3 separate regions of the Homo sapiens genome follow, and all the other regions are linked to region 1. Evidence: promoter capture Hi-C in 16 types of primary human blood cells and fetal thymus (Javierre and others, 2016). All regions are on one chromosome and are shown on one strand. Each heading gives the region's core, a stretch centred on a gene start or on the middle of the fragment in contact. The rest is flanking DNA. Distances are from core to core; before and after follow the strand shown.

The links. The method cuts DNA at HindIII sites, captures the fragments that hold promoters and counts their contacts. A CHiCAGO score of 5 or more calls a contact.
Region 2: a contact is called between the fragment with the promoter of PCK1 here and the fragment with the promoter of RAE1 in region 1, in 2 of 17 cell types (erythroblasts and neutrophils). The highest score is 12.4, in erythroblasts.
Region 3: the fragment with the promoter of CTCFL here is called in contact with the fragment with the promoter of RAE1 in region 1 in 11 of 17 cell types (naive B cells, naive CD8 T cells, non-activated CD4 T cells and 8 more); the score reaches 12.0 in naive B cells.

Annotation. Positions count from the first base shown.
Region 1 is chr20:57,348,893-57,353,201 of GRCh38, reverse strand. RAE1 (ribonucleic acid export 1) reads right to left here and starts at 1,947. Exons shown (of 12, transcript NM_003610.4): 1 at 1,780-1,947. RefSeq lists enhancers at 1,478-1,557, 1,748-2,316. The HindIII fragment of the contact is 3,413 bases long and covers 1,660-4,309 here.
Region 2 is chr20:57,558,657-57,562,965 of GRCh38, reverse strand. It overlaps PCK1 (phosphoenolpyruvate carboxykinase 1), which reads right to left and starts at 1,856. Exons shown (of 10, transcript NM_002591.4): 1 at 1,763-1,856; 2 at 1,331-1,594; 3 at 714-895; 4 at 67-270. The coding sequence starts at 1,554. The HindIII fragment of the contact is 6,047 bases long and covers 1,152-4,309 here.
Region 3 is chr20:57,523,155-57,527,463 of GRCh38, reverse strand. It overlaps CTCFL (CCCTC-binding factor like), which reads left to right and starts at 2,324. Exons shown (of 11, transcript NM_001386993.1): 1 at 2,324-2,436; 2 at 3,248-3,801; 3 at 4,186-4,309. The coding sequence starts at 3,259. RefSeq lists an enhancer at 3,195-4,133. The HindIII fragment of the contact is 10,995 bases long and covers 1-4,309 here.

The sequences.
Region 1 (4,309 bases), core at 698-3,197:
CCTTCCAACTCCCCGAGGAGTTACGTACACTGAAACCACATTTCAATCCTACTACCTGTTACGCTGAAAAGTCCTCCATACCAGTCACCTCTCCAAAGGGAGCCAAATGGCTGAGTGACATCCTTGCTAACAAGACAACACAGAACGGAGAAACTGCAAGGAATTTGGGGAAGGCATTTGAGTTTCCTCAGCTTCATGAAAAATAAGTGCAGAACAAAAGGTCAGAGCAACAGCTACAAGCACATGTACATTTTAGTGAACGTGAGGGGATGTGGTCCTTGCCGGCCACACTTCTGCCCTCAAATGCAGAGGTACTTGAAACACCAGTTGGCTGTATGAACGAACAAAGGCATGACAAGGCTTCTGCAATCAGTCCAGGTGCTGGTTACACGGCTTTGGACGGGTCACTTAACCTTGATTTTCTCATCTGTAAAACAGAGACACTAATATCTACTTCACAGAGTTATGAGAACTAAATGAAGCCACACACACACACTGCCTAAAGCACTACAGGTTCTTAATAAATATTACTTTCACTCTATTCCTCTACCTCAACCTTCAAGTTGGGAGAGAACATTTCTGCCATTAGGGATGAACTTAGGAAAAAGAACATGGTAGGTGAGAATCGTTCGTGTTAGTCAGTGTGGACCACACCTTATGCTGAGCACTGGGAAGCTTCCAAAGTTCAGAAGGCACAGTCATCTGTGGGACCCACCTAATCTCTTCCCGCTCTCTCCCGCCTTGCTGCACCCCAGCCCTCCTAGCTCTGCTGGCTTCCTTTCTCCGCTGAACACAACAAGCTCATCCCTGCCTTGGAGCAAACCTAGTGCTGTTCCTTCAGCTTGGGATGATTTGCTTCTCCCTCCCCACAGCTACCTCCGTTTGAATCTTCATATCCCAGTTCAAAAGTTGCCTCCTCCGAACTTCTTGGGGTGATGAAAATGTCCCAAATTTGAACTTGCCATGTTTACGCAACTGCATAAAATTTCCAAACTCACAATATACACTTTCAATGGTTGAAATTAATGTTATTTTATACTTCAATAAAGCTGTCACACGTATTCTTTTTTAAAGTCACCTCCTCAGACGCTTCTTTGCCAACTTTAACATATCTAATCTTCCATCACATCCCCTGGAATTTCTTGTTTACACTCAAAATCTCTTCCCCCCCAGAATGCTGGCTCCAAGAGGGCAGCCACTTGCCTGGATTCTTCCCTTAATGCATACTGGGTCCCACAGTACAATGCCTGGCCCAGGGCGGCTGGTGTTTAATACTACTTGCCTGGAGAAGTACTGCCTGTACGGTGGCACCTATATACGTATACAATAAATACTTGGCGGGCTAAGACAGAAACAGACTTAGTTTCAGAGACTGGTAACTGCTACGAAAGAAATGGAGCAGGTTGACGTGGAAGAGGCTAAAAGGGGACGCCCTTCTGCAAAGCGGCCAGGGAAAGCTTCTCCCAGGAGCTGACATGTATCTGACGAGACGCCAGACGTGTAAGGGGGAGGGACAGAGGCGACACACACTGCATTAACGCAATGTGACCCTTCCCAGAGGCTCAGTTCCCCCACAAGAGAAACGATGGATTAGGCCCTAGGTGACCCCTAAGGCCATTTCCAGCTCTGACCTCGCTTCCAGGGCCCAGTAACGAAGCTTAGTCAACAGTCCCGCTCGCGCCCCAGCATCCCGCAGAAGCGCGCTCCCGGGAGGCAACTCGGCCTCTGCGGGAGCCATGGCGGCGGTTAACGACGGGACGCGCGCGGCACGGGGCCTACCTGGGGGTCTCGCCCCGGCGGAAAGCGGCGGCCGGGAGCAGAAGGGTCTGAGGAGTTTGCGAACCTGCTCTGGCGCGAAGGACGAGGGCCAGGAGCGCGGACAGAAATCCCAGGAGCCCGAAGCCTCCTTAAGCCTGCGGTAGAAACTGCCCTGACTACCGCGGAAACAACGCGCGTGCGCCCTGGAGCCACTTCCTGCGTCGCCCGGAAATCGTCGAAGAAAAAGGCTCCTTTTCCCGCAAGGCGACAGCACATGCGCAAAAACGCTTTACACCAGCAGTTTGCGAATTGGTCCAAAGTTGATGTAGCCGCTGCAAGTTACTAAGCGACTGCTTTTATAAATCCGCAACTGGCCAGGCGCGGTGGCTCACGCCTGTAATCCCAGCACTTTGGGAGGCCGAGGCGGGCTGATCACCTGGGGTCAGGAGTTCAAGACAAGTCTGGCCAACATCGTGAACCGCCCCGCCCCCCGCCCCCCCCGCCCCCCCGCGCCGCCCCCCCCCGCCCCCCGCCCCCGTCCCCCCGCCCCCCCCGCCCCCCCCGCCCCCCGTCCCCCCGCCCCCCCGCCCCCCCGTCCCCCCGTCAGTACTAAAAATACAAAAATTAGCCGGGCATGGTGGCGGGTGCCTGTAATCCCAGCTGCTTGGGAGGCTAAGGCAGGAGAATCGCTTGAACCCAGGAGGTGGAGGTTGCAGTGAGCCGAGACCATGCCATTGCACTCCAGTCTGGACAACAAGAGCGAAACTCCATCTCAAATCAGTCAATCAATCCGCAACTAGGGCTAGTGCAAGGTAGCTAGCTGTTTTCTCTTGTGAATTAATTATTGCATTTATCATGTATAAACATCTAAAAGATTCTGATTGCTTCCAATTCACGTCCAAGGCCAACCTCCGAGAAGCTGCTCTAACGCTGCCTCCGAACAAGGCGAGGTCGGCCGCGGGTTTCCCGCCCTGGCCTCTCCCTGTTTGCCCACTGGGGTACCCTGAGCCCACCTCGGGGCTCTTTGGGCCTCAGTTTCCTGCTGCATGGTGGGGAAAATGATGCCAGGGCTGTTCCTAATTAGGGTCAAGTGAAATCATACGTGAACTACTCTTACTAATAGAACTGTCTGTAGAAATGTTAAGGGATTCTTATTACTCACACACGCCCACTCCAAATATTTCAGTTGGTTGTTTCCTCCCAACCCCTACTTTTAGGAGCATCTGAAGAAGGAAGTGAAGGAAAAGACAGATCACAAGGAAGGGATTTCGTGAGGTTATGTAGCTACCCTGGATTCTCTCCTTCACTACTCAGTGTGGTCTGCGTGCCTTGACCTTCTTAAGGAGGTTTAGGATCTGGGGTATCTTTTTATAAAATGCAGATTCAGTAGGTCTACGATGGGCCTAAAAATCCACATTTCTACCAAATTCCCAGCAGAGGTTGCTGGGCCGTGAACCAGAGTTAAGTACCAAGGCTGTAGATCATTTGGAATCCTGGGCAGCTTTTTAAAAACTGTGATGTTTACACTGCACCCTTAGAGATTCTGATTTAGTACGCCTGGGCTAGAAAAGAGGAAATTAATATTTTTTAAAAGCTCCCCAGGTGATTCTAAGATGCAGCCAAGACTGAGAACCTCTAGTCTAGACGATGATGGTAATAATAGCTCTTTTGAGCATCACCCTATGCTAAGCGCTTTAGATGCTCCATCTCCTGTAGTTTCCAGACCAGCCCTAAAAGATAGGTATTGTGATTATCTCCATTTTATAGATATGGAAAATGAAGCTGACAGAGGTGATGTTGTGTCCGGAATTGGTGGGTTCTTGGTCTCACTGACTTCAAGAATGAAGCTGCGGAGCCTCGCGGTGAGTGTTACAGTTCTTAAAAGCAGCGCATCCGGAGTCTGTTCCTTCTGATGTTAAGATGTGTTTGGAGTTTCTTCCTTCTGGTGGTTTATGGCCTCGCTGGCTCAGAAGCGAAGCTGCAGACCTTCGGGCAGTGAGTGTTACAGCTCTTAAGGCGACGCATCTGGAGTTGTTCCTTCCTCCCGGCGGGCTCGTGGTCTCGCTGGCTTCAGGAGTAAAGCTGCAGACCTTTGCGGTGAGTGTTACAGCTCATAAAGACGACGTGGTCCCAAAAAGCGAAAGAACAAACCTCCCACACCGTGGAAGGTGCCCCGAGCAGATTGCCACTACTAGCTCCGGCAGCCTGCTTTTATTCTCTTATCTGGCCCCACCCACATCCTGCTGATTGGTAGAGCCCAGTGGTCTGTTTTGACAGGTCGCTGATTGGTGCCTTTACAATCCCTCAGCTAGACACAAAGGTTCTCCAAGGCCCCACCAGAGTAGCCAGATACAGAGTGTCCATTGGTGCATTTACAAACCCTGAGCTAGACACAGGGTGCTGATTGGTGTGTTTACAAACCTTGAGCTAGATACAGAGTGCTGATTGGTGTATTTACAATCCCTGAGCTAGACATAAAGATTCTCCAAGGCCGCATCAGAGTAGCTAGATACAGAGTGTCGATTGGTGTATTTACAATCCCTGAGCTAGA
Region 2 (4,309 bases), core at 607-3,106, 210 kb before region 1:
CTCACTGGGGTTTGCGTTCAGCTTTCTTTTTTATTTTGACTTTTGATTCTGAAATAATACACTTACTTTGTAAAGGCAGAGGGCACCCCACAGAATGGAGGCATTTGACAAACTCCCCATCGCCCACTGCTTCCAGGACGGGCGTGCCCATCCGCGTCATGATCCGCATGCTGGCCACCACGTAGGGTGAATCCGTCAGCTCGATGCCGATCTTTGACAGAGGCGAGCCCAGCGGCCCCATGCTGAATGGGATGACGTACATGGTGCGACCTACAGGGTGCGATGGGTGGGCACTGGTGAGAAATGACCTTGGACTTCGAACACGACCAGCATTTTTTTCCCAGGTAGACCCATTTTCACGGTGTTCCACTAACACCACCACACCCTGCTGGTCACCAGCCCCCTGGGTTAGAAGAGGCCACTGGAAAGTGAACAGCCTGCTGAAATTAAAGAGTTTTCATAAATGTGCAATTGGGTCCCACCAAGCTATTTAAAACCCATATGCATGGAACTAGTTTTCACGTTTGTATAAGACAGTCTGTAAAAGCAGAAGAGGGATGTGCATTTTCAATACATTGCCAACTTCATGTATGGAACTGAAAGACATCTGAGGTGGTGGGAGCTTCCATTATTGTTTGAATTACCATTAGGATAGATGTAAATAAGAAAAGGCTCTCTGCTGTTTTACCCAATCAAATCAATGTTCCGCTCACCTTTCATGCACCCTGGGAACCTGGCATTGAACGCTTTCTCAAAATCCTCCTCTGACATCCAGCGACCGAGCTGGCTGAGGCCTGTTTTGGGGATGGGCACTGTGTCTCTTTGCTCTTGGGTGACGATAACCGTCTTGCTTTCGATCCTGGCCACATCCCTGGGGTCAGTGAGAGCCAACCAGCTGCAAAAATCACAGGCTTCCTTTCAGCCAAGCACCACGGGCAGCGAACCATCTCCTTCAGTACCGTGGCTTTCCATGCCTAGCAGAGTGCTGAGCACGCTAACAACAGTCCATCAGTGTGAACACACAGACCATCTAAGACATGGCCAGGTGGACATTTACTCCACTAGGACCTGGTCTGTAGGAGAGGGGCTGCCTTTTTTTTAATCAGGAATCTAGTTGGCAGAGCTTTTGTGCACACACCTCATTTAAAGCTTGGGCTGGCCCACTAATGTCACAAAATTCAAGTCTGTATGGTTCTGACCATTGCATTCATCTTCTCAAGAGTCTGAAACTACCCGAAGGCCTTCATTCACCTTTCTCCACCAACTCCCAGGAGACGCAGGGGAGCCCTGCCTGCAGGGTGCTGGGACAGGCAGCGGGGGCCGAGCTTACCAGTTGTCATACTTCTTCAGCCGCCTGAGGATGCCCTCTTCCTCCATCTGGCCCAGAAGCCGCCCATTCTCCTCCTCAGAGCCGTCACAGATGTGGATGTGATCAGGCTGACACAGCTCAGCGTTATTCTCGAGAAACTCCCTCACTGCCTGGGGTAGGCTGTCCAGGCTTCCCTGGACAACTTTGGCCGAGAGGTTCAGGCCGTTTTGCAGCTGAGGAGGCATTTCTGCAGAGTGCTGCTAAGGGGCACGAATGTGAGGTCACCTGAAATAGAAAACGCAAGCGTCCTGAACAAAAACAACAACAGACACCTTCAAACACATTCGACGGCCTTTTGCCAGGGCTGTGCATTGCCAAATAGTTATTGCTCTCAGGAAAAAAATGAGTTCATCTTTGTAATTTTTCAAAATGTAAATGCAAAGCTCTACTTACCTTTCTTCTCTTTGGATGATCTCGAAGGGAGATCCACAGGTTTCTTTCCGGGCTCTTCCCGCCAGCAAGTTTGTGTTCCCAGTGGGAAGGCCGTGCTTGGTGGCAGAACCTCCCAGCTTTAAATACTGTGGAAAAGAATAGCCCTGCCCCTCAGCTGCACCCAGGGAGGCTCGCCACTGACGTCAGGGGGCAGGTCTCTGGATCACGGCCAGGGTCAGTTATGCTTTGGGCCAACTCACTGCAACACGCCCCAGGGAGATAATCATTGAACAGATAGTTGTTAATGAATGCTGGGAGACTTCGAGCCCTCAACCAACCATAGTGAGTTTTGACACAACTTCCAACTGACTAAACCTTGACCCATTTTACTGCTGTTGCAAAACACAACACCCTTTTCTTAACAGGCAGGTGGGTCAAGGACAAGGTTGGCCGGGGCACCTGCTAGCAGCACATTTTGTGTACCAAGAGCTGCTGGTTGGCAAAACACCACAGCTATAAGATGTCACCCCATAGTCAAAGGTCACAGTCAAAGTTCATGGGAAGGATGCACCCTAACTTGGGCAAATATGTGGCTTATTGGCAAAGATTGGAAATGCCTAACCTAACTGGGGGCTAATCACTGTATTGATTGTCTGCTCTGTGCCGCCCCCGCCCCCTGCCCCGATGTAAACTCCATGAGGGCAGGGATTTCTCCCTATTTTGTTCATTTTTCTCTCTGTAGTGCTTGGCATAGAGTAGGCACAGGATGCACACATGCTGAGCACTGTTCTAAGAGCTTGGCATCATTACTACCCTCTGAGGTGGAGGCTATGAACAACCCATGTACAGATAGGGAAACTGAGGCAGAGATTGTGTAGCCACTCACAGCCGGCTGGTGGGTTGCAGAGTGAGGATCTGAACATGAGCAAGTTGGGCCCTGGAGCACCACGTCTCTCCCTGTGAGGTACCGCCACCTTTCCAGAACCTTCCCTGTGTCCTCCAGGGAGTTCTGGGCTGAGTGCAGTTACTCCTGCAGTCCACTGGCCACTGTTCTCTTCCCTGGCAAGTCTTAGAGTTTAGGGAGTGGAGGGGGCTTGGCAGTTTTGCTAGATTATATGCTTAAGCAATGAAACCTTTATAACAGTTGTAAAGAATTTGCTTTGCAAGCCATCAGACCTTCAGTCAAATTTAATGAGCTATGGAAGCTGCTTGCTGGAGTTTGGAGAACACAGGGTGAAATGTCAAAAGAACGGGGCTAGGTCTCAACCCCCCACAGCCAGCCCACACTTCCATGGAAGCCTCTCTACCTAAGATGAGGTCAGGTGGGGACTTGGCCCATCTCCCCGCTGGGGTGTGGGATGATCCCTGAGATAATCCCAGGACTGGGCTTAGAAAGAGCTGCTGTGGCAAATACAAGTCACTGTGAATGGCAGCCTCCGACCAAACTCACTTAGAGAACCCTCCTGGGGGCTTGGGTCACACTGTGTTGGGCGTGGGTCACACATCATCAAGTTCCACCAAAATTATCAACCCATTGCTATGTTTCCTGTATTCAGATTTTATTCAGCCAGTTGTGTCTTTCAGGATAAATATGATATGAGGTGCTTTTTGTTTCATTTGAAGTTATTCCCCGTTTAGGTCACTGGCATTTGTTATTAGTGGTGCTGTCATCCATACATAAGATCGTGTTGTGTCTAAACCCAACAGTGACGTGATGCTCAGTAGCCGAGGCCACTTCGTTAGCATCTGACATCAGTGAATTAGCCATCCCGATGCATGACCACAATTCCGTGACACACACATCACTCCCGGCGAGACTCATCCCACCAAATTGGTAGAAAGTCCCATTTTGCTGATAAAACGGTAACAGGTTTGAGTACCTGAAAGAGCACATAGATTGAAAACAAAAAGGGAAAGCAGAACTCATTTGGAGTCCTAAATGCGACCCATCCATTCCAGGTGCTTATGTTCTGAGTCTTCTGGGAGAGAAACAGCTAGTTCAAGTAAAACGTCAGAGCAGTGAGTCACCAACGACCTTCATCCGATCCTTTCATTACCTGCATTTACAGCGTGGAAGGACGGTAATGATTCCCCCGCAACTGTCCCTTGTCAAAATGTTAAAAAGCAAACATTGGTTTACAGACTTGCCTCAAAGGACAGAGTTCTCTGGAAGAAGAATCATGATAAAGTAGAGGGGTTTTGAGGACACACAGGCAAAAGTATGGGTACAGTTGCCTTAGGTCTTGGCAGATGATGCCCTCGGGCCCCCATTTTTCCTGTCCTTAGAGACTCCCTGCCCCAGTGGGGACTCATTGACAACAATTTCAAGGGGCTGGCCGGAAGCATGGGTCTTCCTCATCTGACTGTCAGCTTATTTGTAAGTAAGCCTCAAAACTAACTACTGTCTGTTGGTTTCAACAGGGACCCGAAGAAGCAGCCAAACAGCCACCCTGCTGGTGGGATCCCTGAGGACCCCCAGTTAACCCGCCGAGTGGACTTTGCAGTGTGTGCTCAGTGGGTGGGGCATGGAGGTGGCTCACGCTGCCTGTGAGTTGCGTTAGTTGTTTC
Region 3 (4,309 bases), core at 1,075-3,574, 170 kb before region 1:
ATGCACCCCTGCTCCATCGGCTGCCTCCTCACCCTTTCCAGCCCCCACATTCCTGCCCTTTCTCTGCTCAACTCCTCCGTCTTCTCCCTCGGACGCTCATCCTCCTCCACACCCGCCTACGTTCTCCCTTCTTTGCCCTCGTCGTCCCCTCTCTTCCTCGTTCCTCGAGCTCCCTCTGCTCCCTCGAGGGTACTCAGGACCCGGCAACTCTGCACACCTCAGTGCCCCGGAGCCCTCGGAGTTCCTCCTCTTTCCCACCACGAAGCCTCTTTTTTTCCATTTATTTCCATCCCCATTTCCCTACCCCCATGTCTGGGGTCCCTGTCAATCTCCATCACCCCTGCCGCCCTATCTCCCCCTCCTTCCACGTCTCCTTTCCTGCACATTCCCAGCCCCCACCTAGCTCCTGCTCAGGTCTCTGTGGCTCACAGAGGGCCCTCCTCACCCTCCACTCTGCCCTGTCCAGCCCACCCCAACCCATCTCCTGGAACCCTTGTAAGGTCTCTCCCCGCCCAGTCCCTGCTGCGTCCATTTCCCACCCAAGTCTCTAAGCACCCCATTCCCCATCCTCTCCCATTGCCCCTCCTTATCCTCCCCCCGACCCCAGGTCTCCCAGCGCCCCCTGCAAGGCCCTTCTTCCCTCCTTACCCATTCCCCACCCCTGCCCCGCCTAGGTCTCCCAGCGCCCCCTGCAGGCCCTCCTCCCCTTCTTATCCAAGCCCCCCAGGTTCCCCAGCGCCCCCTGCAGGCCCTCCTCCCTCCTTATCCATTCCCCACCAGGTCTCAGTGCCCCCTGCAGGCCCTTCTCCCCTCCTTATCCATTCCCTCCACCCCCGCCCAAGTCTCCCAGCGCCCTCTCCAGGCCCTCCTCCCTCCTTATCCTTTCCCCTCCAGGTCTCCCAGCGCCCCTTGCAGGCCCCCCTCCACTCCTTATCCATTCCCCGCCAGCGTCTCCCAGTGCCCCTTGCGGCCATCCTCCCCTCCTTATCCATTTCCCCCCCAGGTCTCCCAGCGCCCCCTGAGGGCCCTCTTCCCCTCCTTATCCATTCCCCCCAAGGTCTCCCAGCGCCCCCTACAGGGCTCTCCTCCCCTCCTCATTCCACCCCTCCCCCCAGTATCTCAGTGCCTCCTGCGGGCCCTCCTCCCACCCTTATCCATTCCCCTCCCCTAGGTCTCCCAGCGCCCCCTGCAGGACCCCCTCCCCTCCTTATCCATTCCCCCACAAGGTATCCCAGCGCCCCCTGCAGGGCTCTCCTCCCCTCCTCATTCCACCCCTCCCCCCAGTCTCTCAGTGCCTCCTGCGGGCCCTCCTCCTCTCCTTATCCATTCCCCTCCCCCAGGTCTCCCAGCACCCCTTGCAGGCCCTCCTCCCCTCCTTATCCATTCCCCTCCCCCAAGTCTCCCAGCACCCCTTGCAGGCCCTCCTCCCCTCCTTATCCATTCCCCCACCCCTCGCCCCCCGCAGGGCTCCCAGGGCCCCCTGCAGACCCTCCTCCCCTTGTCCTCTCCTATTCATCCCCCAGGTCTCCCAAGAACCCCTGCAGACCCTCCTCCCCTCCTTATCCATTACCCTCACCTCAGGTCTCCCCGCCCCCCTGCAGGGCTCTCCCCTCCTCATTCCACCCCTCCCCCTGGTATCTCAGTGCCTCCTGTTGGCCCTCCTACCCTCCTTATCCATTCCCCTCCCCTAGGTGTCACAGGCCCCCTGCAGGCCCCCCTCCCCTCCTTATCCATTACCCACCACCCCCCTCAGGTCTCCCAGCCCCCCTGCAGGGCTATCCTCCCCGCCTCATTCCACCCCTCCCCCCCTCATTCCACCCCTCCCCCCAGTATCTCAGTGCCTCCTGTGGGCCCTCCTCCCCTCCTTATCCATTCCCCCTCAGATCTCCCAGGCCCCCTGCAGGCCCTCGTGCCCTCCTTACTTCCCCCCCGGGTCTCCCAGCGCCCCCTGCGGGGCCCTCCTCCCTTCCTCATCCACTTCAACCCCAAGGTATTTCCGTGCCCCTGCAGGACCCTCCTCCCCTCCTTAGGCGCTCCCCCACTACCCAGTCTTCCAGTGCCCTGCAGGCTCTCCTCCTCTCCTTATCCACCCCCACCCCAGGTCTCCCAGTGCCCTGTATGGGACCCTCCTCCCCTCCTCATCCACCCCCCCAGGTCCACCAGTGCCCCCTCTGGGGTCCTCCTCATCCGTGCTCCCCCTCCCCCTCCCTACTCCCCTTCCCCCCTGCCCCCACAGTACATCACCCCCTCCCCCAACCCTGCCTGGCTCCGCCCCCTTCACGCCCCCTCTTTTCCGCTCCGCGCCTGCGCACTGCCACCCTCCACTCTCGCGCCAGCCCGGCGGCGGCCGGCTGTGGGCTGCAGCACGCGGTGCACGAGGCAGAGCCCACAAGCCAAAGACGGAGTGGGCCGAGCATTCCGGCCACGCCTTCCGCGGTGAGGGGCCAGTCCCGGTCAAGCCCACCTGCTCTCCTCCAAGAGCATGGGCTGTTCTGGGCGTGGGCGGAGGGAGGGGCTGGCCGGAAAGGCCCAAGGGCGGGCGGCAGACGCTGAGGGGCTGCCTGGGAGGGTCGGGTCGGGGCGGGGCGTGGGGGGCAGGGTAAAGCAGGGGCCCTGCCAGGCCTCCGAGGGAGTGTGCTTGGTCTGGCCGAGGGCTGCTTGGCCAAGTCTGGGTGGGCTCGAGGCCACTAGGCCCAAAGCCTGCCTGGCTCTGAGGGTGCTAGGTCTAGAACCGTGCACGAGGGGAATGCCTGCTCGGGCCCGAACCTCGCTGGGCGCCGGGTGTGCACTGGCCCGGGGCCTGCTTGGACCTGAAACTTGCTAGGCCCAGGATATGCACTGGCCGAGAGCCTGCTGGGCCCAAACCTTACTAGGCCCAGGATGTTCACTGACTGAACCGGCTCAGGCCTAACCTTGCTAGGCCCAGGATATGCACTGGGCCAGAGTGTGCTCAGGCGGAACCTTGCCAGGCGCAGGATGTGTGCTGGCCCTAAGCCTGCTGAGGCCCAAACCTGTTCGTTCTAGGGTTTTGTACAAAATCCTGCTTTAGCCTAAATCCTGCTTAGCCTTGACCCCCTCCTAGACCCAAGCCAGATCAGCATTGTTCTGACCCTACTAAGTCCAAAACCTTTTGAGGCCAGACCTTGTTTCAACTCCAAAGCCTGCTAGGTTCCAGCACCCCCCGCATCCCTCCTCATACCACCCCCTTCTCCCCCCTATGGAAACCGCTTGCTTATTTTTCAAACAGGCCAAGTCATTATGGCAGCCACTGAGATCTCTGTCCTTTCTGAGCAATTCACCAAGATCAAAGAACTCGAGTTGATGCCGGAAAAAGGCCTGAAGGAGGAGGAAAAAGACGGAGTGTGCAGAGAGAAAGACCATCGGAGCCCTAGTGAGTTGGAGGCCGAGCGTACCTCTGGGGCCTTCCAGGACAGCGTCCTGGAGGAAGAAGTGGAGCTGGTGCTGGCCCCCTCGGAGGAGAGCGAGAAGTACATCCTGACCCTGCAGACGGTGCACTTCACTTCTGAAGCTGTGGAGTTGCAGGATATGAGCTTGCTGAGCATACAGCAGCAAGAAGGGGTGCAGGTGGTGGTGCAACAGCCTGGCCCTGGGTTGCTGTGGCTTGAGGAAGGGCCCCGGCAGAGCCTGCAGCAGTGTGTGGCCATTAGTATCCAGCAAGAGCTGTACTCCCCGCAAGAGATGGAGGTGTTGCAGTTCCACGCTCTAGAGGAGAATGTGATGGTGGCCAGTGAAGACAGTAAGTTAGCGGTGAGCCTGGCTGAAACTACTGGACTGATCAAGGTACAGCTGGTTTTAATAAACAACCCCTTACATGAAAAAGAAAAAATTCAAGTCGGCTTTTATGCAATATTATGTCTGGACAAGGTATTTTGCAGTTGCAAATTAAAGACAGTACAAATACTTCCCAGGAAAATCTTGAGAGTTCTTAGGTTCTTTTTTAAAAAAGAGTTTTAAAAGTGGTGCTAATTGGAATAGTGTAAGGCGCATTATGTTTTAAAAAAAAGTGTTAAGTTTCACTGCCACAACCCTGATGCGAAATAATTAACATTGTGATGCATAATCTTCCACTTTGGCTTTTCTTTTTGTATTCTGTGCTTCATCCAGGCAAAAGTCTAATTATACTGAAATCAATAGTATCATATTTGAATATTTGTTGTTTATTAGCTCGAGGAAGAGCAGGAGAAGAACCAGTTATTGGCTGAAAGAACAAAGGAGCAGCTCTTTTTTGTGGAAACAATGTCAGGAGATGAAAGAAGTGACGAAATTGTTCTCACAGTTTCAAATTCAA